2 separate regions of the Homo sapiens genome follow, and region 1 is linked to region 2. Evidence: promoter capture Hi-C in 16 types of primary human blood cells and fetal thymus (Javierre and others, 2016). All regions are on one chromosome and are shown on one strand. Each heading gives the region's core, a stretch centred on a gene start or on the middle of the fragment in contact. The rest is flanking DNA. Distances are from core to core; before and after follow the strand shown. Region 1 has its middle 11 kb from the start of RIMS3. Region 2 holds the start of RLF (RLF zinc finger).

What was found. The method cuts DNA at HindIII sites, captures the fragments that hold promoters and counts their contacts. A CHiCAGO score of 5 or more calls a contact.
Region 1: a fragment that was not itself captured here is called in contact with the fragment with the promoter of RLF in region 2 in 1 of 17 cell types (neutrophils); the score reaches 5.4 in neutrophils.

The regions. Positions count from the first base shown.
Region 1 is chr1:40,674,992-40,678,198 of GRCh38, forward strand. It overlaps a transcript of RIMS3 not described here. Among named protein-coding and RNA genes, the nearest start is that of RIMS3, 11 kb to the left of the region's middle. The HindIII fragment of the contact is 4,589 bases long and covers 1-3,207 here.
Region 2 is chr1:40,159,612-40,163,134 of GRCh38, forward strand. RLF (RLF zinc finger) reads left to right here and starts at 1,776. Exons shown (of 8, transcript NM_012421.4): 1 at 1,776-2,025. The coding sequence starts at 1,789. It overlaps LOC105378671 (a long non-coding RNA gene), which reads right to left and starts at 1,667. Exons shown (of 3, transcript XR_947232.3): 1 at 1,354-1,667. RefSeq lists a silencer at 238-439 and enhancers at 1,448-2,064, 1,552-2,061, 2,065-2,680. The HindIII fragment of the contact is 5,693 bases long and covers 1-3,523 here.

The sequences.
Region 1 (3,207 bases), core at 199-2,698, 520 kb after region 2:
GCCTCACACACAAAACCCCAGAACTTCGAGAGGTCAAGGTGGGAGGATCAGTTAAGCCCAGGAGCTCAAGACCAGCCTGGACAACAGTGAGACTTTGTCTCTACGAAAGGAAAAAAAATTTTTTTTAATTAGCCAAGCATGGTGGTGCATGCCTGTATTCTCAGCTACTTTGGAGGCTGAGGTGGGAGGATCATTTGAGCCTGGGAGGCAGAGGTGGCAGTGAGCCAAGATCGTGCCATGCCACTGCACTACAGCCTGGGTGATAGAGTGAGACCCTGTCTCAGGAAAAAAAAAAAAGGAAAGAAATTGTCAGGTGGCAGAAGGAGTTGAAGTAGAGAAGTCAGAGACAGCCAGGTATGGTGGCTCATGCCTGTAATTCCAACCGGTTGGGAGGCTGAGGCAAGTGGATCACTTGAGTCCAGGAATTCATGACCAGCCTAAGCAACATGGCAAAGCCCTGTCTCTACAAAAAATATAAAAATTAGGCTGGGTACGGTGGCTCATGCCTGTAATCCCAGCACTTTGGGAGGTTGAGACAGGAGGATCACCTAAGGTCAGGAGTTCGAGACCAGCCTGGCAAACATGGTGAAACCCTGTCTCTACTAAAAATACAAAAATTAGCCAGTCGTGGTGGTACACACCTGTAATCTCAGCTACTCAGGAGGCTGAGGCAGGAGAATCACTTGAACCTGGGAGGCGGAGGTTGCGGTGAGCTGAGATCGTGCCATTGCACTCCAGCCTGGGAAACAAGAGTGAAACTCCATCTCAAAAAAAAAAAAAAAAAAAATTAGCCAGGCATAGTGACACATGCCTGTAGTCCCAGCTACTTGGGAGGCTGAGGCAGGAAGATTGTTTGAGCCCAGGATGCAGAGGTTGCAGTGAGTGATGATCGTGGCACTGTACTCCAGCCTGGGTGACAGAGCAAGACCCTGTCAAAAAAAAAAAGTCATAGACAAGTAGGTCTTGGCCAGGAAAGCCATGTGCAGGCCCAGAGAAGTAGGATCAGAGACCAAGAGAAGGCAGAAGCCTGACTGTAGGTAGAGGGGGAAGGAGCAATCCTATCCAGTGATGAGGAGTGGTGAGAAGATAGAGAATAAATAGACCAGTGAGTCCTAGACCTCTATCCTTCATCCTGCCTTTCAGTTCCAGTCTTTACAAGAAACTCCTTTGTACTTGAGCTAAATTGGGTGGGCTTCTGCAGCCCAATGAGCCTGACTCTACTGTGTTATCTTGGCAAGTCCCTGCCCCTCTCTGAGCCTCGGTCTGACTAGATTGTCTCTAAAGTCCTCTCCAGGTCAGTGTTCTTTCTGAACACTGTGTAGAGGGGATGGTTTTTAGGTTGTTGGCACCTGAGTTCAGTATTAGTTACAGAGTGCCCCTGACATCCTGGCTCCCAAAATAGCGTGGTGGCTGGTTAAAGAGCCTGTTAGAGGATCCAACACCCACCTGGCTTTGAACCTGAGACCCGCTGATACAATTCGACTCCTCCTTCGATTGTATCTTTTGTTGGATCACAAAGGAACTGAGGAACCAGGGCTGGTGTTTCTCCAGTGTCTTTTGGCTCCTGAATGCCCTACGTACCCCCTTAATACTTTTCTGGACCCACTTCAGCATTTCAGAGGATTTCAGTGCCAAATCTGCTCTAAAAAAAAGTGCCACTCCAGGAAGAATTTGAACAAAAAAAGTTTCCTTCTTTGGTATTAAGATTTCCTGCCTTCCAGCTGTTTGGCTCTGAGCCTGTGCCCTGCCTTCATCCTCCTAAGCTAACAACTATGTTGATAATAATACTCCCTTGCTTTTGTATGGTGTTTTGCACTTTTCAGAGCATTTTAACACTTATCATCTTACTTGATGAAAAAAACTCAGGCAGGATGGACAAGAAGGAGAGGCAGAGGATAATACCTGGATAATATCTATCACTTCTCCCATTCCCTCTACCCCCTTAGGACAATTTATTTTCAAATAATGTAAAATAAATTATTCCTATGCCTTTTTTAAAAACAGGTGGAATTTTTTTTTTTTTTTGAGATAGAGTCTCTCTCTGTCACCCAGGCTGGAGTGCAGTGGTGCAATCTCAGCTCACTGCAACCTCTGCCTCCCAGGTTCAAGTGATTTTCCTGCCTCAACAACCTGAATAGCTGGGATCACAGGTGTGCACCACCATGCCCAGCTAATTTTTTAAAAATTATTTTTAGTAGAAATGGGGTTTCACCATGTTGGCCAGGCTGGTCTCGAACTCCTGACCTCAGGTGATCTGCCCGCCTCAGCCTCCCAGAGTGCTGGGATTACAGGTGTGAGCCACCGTGCCGGCCTAATATAAGGTGGAAATATTGAGATTGAACTTGATTAAGTGACTTGCCCAAGGTCACAAAGCAGGTTGATGGCTCAGTAGGATCTATAAGGCTTACAATCAAGGATCACACTTGGCCGGGTGCGGTGGCTCATGCCTGTAATCCCAGCACTTTGGGAGGCCAAGGCAGGCGGATCACGAGGTCAGGAGATCGAGACCATCCTGGCTAACACGGTGAAACCCCGTCTTCACTAAAAATACAAAAAATTAGCCAGGCATGGTGGCGGGCGCCCGTAGTCCCAGCTACTTGGGAGGCTGAGGCAGGAGAATGGCGTGAACCCAGGAGGCGGAGCTTGCAGTGAGCTGAGATCACACCACTGCACTCCAGCCTGGGTGACAGAGCGAGATTACATCTCAAAAAATAATAAATAAATAAATAATTAATTAAAAAAAAAGGATCACACTTAATGTTTATAGTCATTTTCTCAAGACCTGCCCAACCCTATTTTGCACACTGCTAGCCAAGGCAAGGGACCTTGAAGAAAAGTCGTGTTCTTGACATGTATGCCCCTTTGGTGCCTGCAGGGATCATTCATAATCTTAACCTGTACCCTCTACAGAGACTTAGCTGTCCCACAGTGGCTTGCGAAGCACCAGGAGGTCACAGAAGTAAGCTAGGTTGGATGTAATGTTTTCAATACTGTTCCTTGGGTAATGGCAAGAATAAATTCTGTTGGAAAACACTGTTTTCTTGTTTTTCTTATGGAACACTTGGCAGAAGACAGAAAAGGTTGAGAACCATCAGTCTATCCCTCCCTCAGTATCTCTAAAAAAAAGGAAGCAGGGCCAGGTGCGGTGGCTTATGCCTGTAATCCCAGCACTTTGGGAGGCCAAGGCGGGTGGATCACTTGAGGTCA
Region 2 (3,523 bases), core at 526-3,025:
CATGAGCCAAAACGTCCAGCTTTTTAATTTACTTTTCTATTGGGTTGTTTGCCTTTTTCGATTTTGGGAACTATTTGTTTGTTTGTTTGTTTGTTTTTTGAGACGGAGTCTTGCTCTGTCACCCAGGCTGGAATGCAGTGGCGCGATCTCGGCTCACTGCAACCCCTGCCTCTCAGGTTCACGCCATTCTCCTGCCTCAGCCTCCCGAGTAGCTGGGACTACAGGCGCCCGCCACCACGCCCGGCTAATTTTTTGTATTTTTAGTAGAGACAGGGTTTCACCGTGTTAGCCAGGATAGTCCTGATCTCCTGACCTCGTGATCTGCCCGCCTCGGCCTCCCAAAGTGCTGGGATTACAGGCGTGAGCCACCTCGCCCAGCCCGGGAACTGTTTTGGATACTAATCAAAACAATGGTTATGGCTGGGCGCGGTGGCTCACGCCTGTAATCCCAGCACTTTGGAAGGCCAAGGCGGGCGGATCACTTGAGGCCAGGAGTTCGAGATCAGCCTGGCCAACACAGTGAAACCCCGCCTCTACTAAAAATACAAACATTAGCCAGGCATGGTGGCGGACGCTTATAGTGCCAGCTACTTTGGGAGGCTGAAGCACGAGAATCACTTAAACCTGAGAGGCAGAGGTTGCAGTGAGCCTAGATCGTGCCACTGCACTCCAGGCTGGGTGACAGAGTGAGACCCTGTCTCAAAAAACAACAACAATAAACAATGGTTATATATATGGGGAATATCATTTAGTCTGTGGCTTGTCTTTGTGTGCTTTTTCAACTTGTTATACGGAAGTAACACATTTTAATACAGTCAAATCTAAATATTTTCCCTTATGGTTTGTGCTTTTCCGGTCTTATTAAGAAATTCTTAGCCGGGCGCGGTGGCTCACGCCTCTAATCCCAGCACTTTGGGAGGCTGAGGCGGGCGGATCACCTGAGGTCAGGAGTTCGAGACCAGCCTGACCAACATGGAGAAACCCCATCTCTACTAAAAATACAAAATTAGCCAGGTATGGTGGCGCATGCATGTAATCCCAGCTGCTCCGGAAGCTGAGGCAGGAGAATGTTTGAACCAAGGAGGCGGAGGTTGCGGTGAGCTGAGATAGCACTGTTGCACTCCAGCCTGGGCAACAAGGGTGAGACTCCGTCTAAAAAAAAAAAAAAAAATTCTTCCCTATTTTTGACATTATAAAGCTATTTTTATTTTCTGAAAAATGTTTGCAGGTCTTTAATCCATCTCGGCCTTATTTTTGGAAATGGTTTGAGGTAGAAATCTAATCATTTATTTCCCTTTTGGAAAAAATGTCTCATCGCCATTTATTGAAGAGTCTGTCCTTTCGCCCACTGACTTGTAATGCCGTCTGTATCATAAACCAAGTTCCCTTGATGTTACTCTTCATTTCGGCCTCACAATCTTTGCTTATTTTCCTTCTACCAGGGATGCTTTTCGCTATGTTCCTTTCAGGGCTACCTTCCTCTTGTCCCTTCAGATCGCAGTTCAAATGTCATCCCCCTCAAATCTAGATTGCTCTACAGGCATTTCTGGCTCCGTGATCCCATGACCTCAAAGGGGTCTAGGTGGGCATAGCCTCTAGCCAGTTGTTGCTAGGCTGTTGTCAGGACTGGCGATGCGTAGGCCACTGAGAGCACCCGGAGTCCGAGTGACGGAATCAGGCGGGCGCCCGCGTCGCTAAGGAGTGCGTCACAGTGCGCGGGCGGCCGGGGGCAGGGCCAGGGCTGAGTCACGTGGCTTGGTTGCCTACGCGCTGGTGGGCCGTGGGAAGATGGCGGACGGAAAGGGAGACGCCGCCGCTGTCGCCGGGGCTGGGGCTGAGGCTCCGGCGGTAGCGGGAGCCGGAGATGGAGTCGAGACTGAGTCCATGGTTCGGGGTCATCGCCCCGTATCTCCAGCGCCGGGAGCCTCGGGACTGCGGCCGTGTCTGTGGCAGCTGGAGACAGAGCTGAGGGAGCAAGAGGTGTCGGAGGTCTCATCTTTGAACTACTGCCGGAGCTTCTGCCAGGTGAGGGGCTGACTGGCTGGCTGAGGGCGGCGGGGCGGGGAAGTCAGGGAAGGAGGCCCTGGATCCTCTGTAAGCAGCCGGGTCCAAACTGAAAGGCGCCACCTCCGTGACTCGCCGCGCCCCCGGGCCGGGAAGGCCCAGCTCGGAAGCTCGACCGCTGGCCCCCCTGCGCCACTGCCCGACTTTGGCCACCGCTGGGTCGTTTTGCTCTGAGCCTTACTGAGATCCCGGAGGGCCCTGGCGGGTCCCTGGAAGGGCTGTGCCCTGTCGCCGTTGCCTGTGTCCTGGCCGGGTGGTTGGAGCGCCACTGCCCCCTGAGGGATTGATTGCTTGTCCCTGCCGGGAGATCCTTTTTTGAGTGGAGTGCAGATCTCCGAACTGGTAAACCCGGGTTTTTCTGAATAATCCAGAGAGGTGTGTTGGGGCCAGAGACTTATTTTTGGAGTTAACATCTTCTGGGCTCCTAAAAGGTATGACAGTTGGCTTCGAAAGGCGTCTAGAGCTTTCTGATTAGGGATTGCGGAGCCGGTTGGTTGTTTGGTTTTTGCTTTTTTTTTTTTTACGTTTAAGCCGTTCTTTCGTCTTTTCTGTATTTCTTTGAGAGGATTGTGCTACCGAGAATAAGGCTGACTCTTTGAGTAGAAGAGGATGGGAAGAGGGATGTAGAGTGTGGCCTCTTTTGGCAGTCGTATGATCATTTCTGTGCCTTGGTGGGTCCTAACCTATGATTACATATTTATGGGTGTGTTTAGTTTAGTCTCCATGACCACTCCGAGATTTTTCTGTATGTTTTCAAGTCTTTTACAAATACAAATATTGGCCATTATTATTTCTGCTTCCAATGTTTGTTCTGTCAGGTTTCAGAGGCACCCATCAGCTCCTTATCTGTTGTACCTTAGAAAATGCAAAATAATCGTGGCATGTTGGTACTTGGAGTCTAATAAGTAGTCCAGTATGCTGAATAAATTGCGGCGTTCTAAAATAATAATTTTGGGGGGCAATTTGCTCTGTTGGTCCGGAGTAGAATAAAAGTTAGCTTGCTTGATTGCTTTTCTTCCCTCTCTCTGCCGAGGCAGAAGCACCTCATCTCTCTGAATGGAATTTTGTCCTTACTAATCTTTTCCGTGGATTGTACCACTCCAATTTTTGTGTGTACAACCTGCAACATTGCCCTGTACTATTAAATGTTAACGTGTTGTTGTTCTCTGCTTCCTTAGTAGTAGTCATCCCTGTTTAGTAAGCTCATTTATTTTACAGATTTTTACTGACTTCATAGGATAGTGCCAGGGACTTTACCAAGTGCTGGGGAAACATGAGTAAGACAGCACTTAGCCTTGATGAACTTACAGTTGGTGGGAGGTGGTAGGAATGACAGTATTTCCAGTGCGGTTTTGGTAATGATGGAAAAGGAGGTGTTGTAGAGACAATGGTGAGGAGAGAGCCTTCATGGGATATCCTGATGGGAAAGACAATTAACTAGAAAAATAAGTAAAAAGGT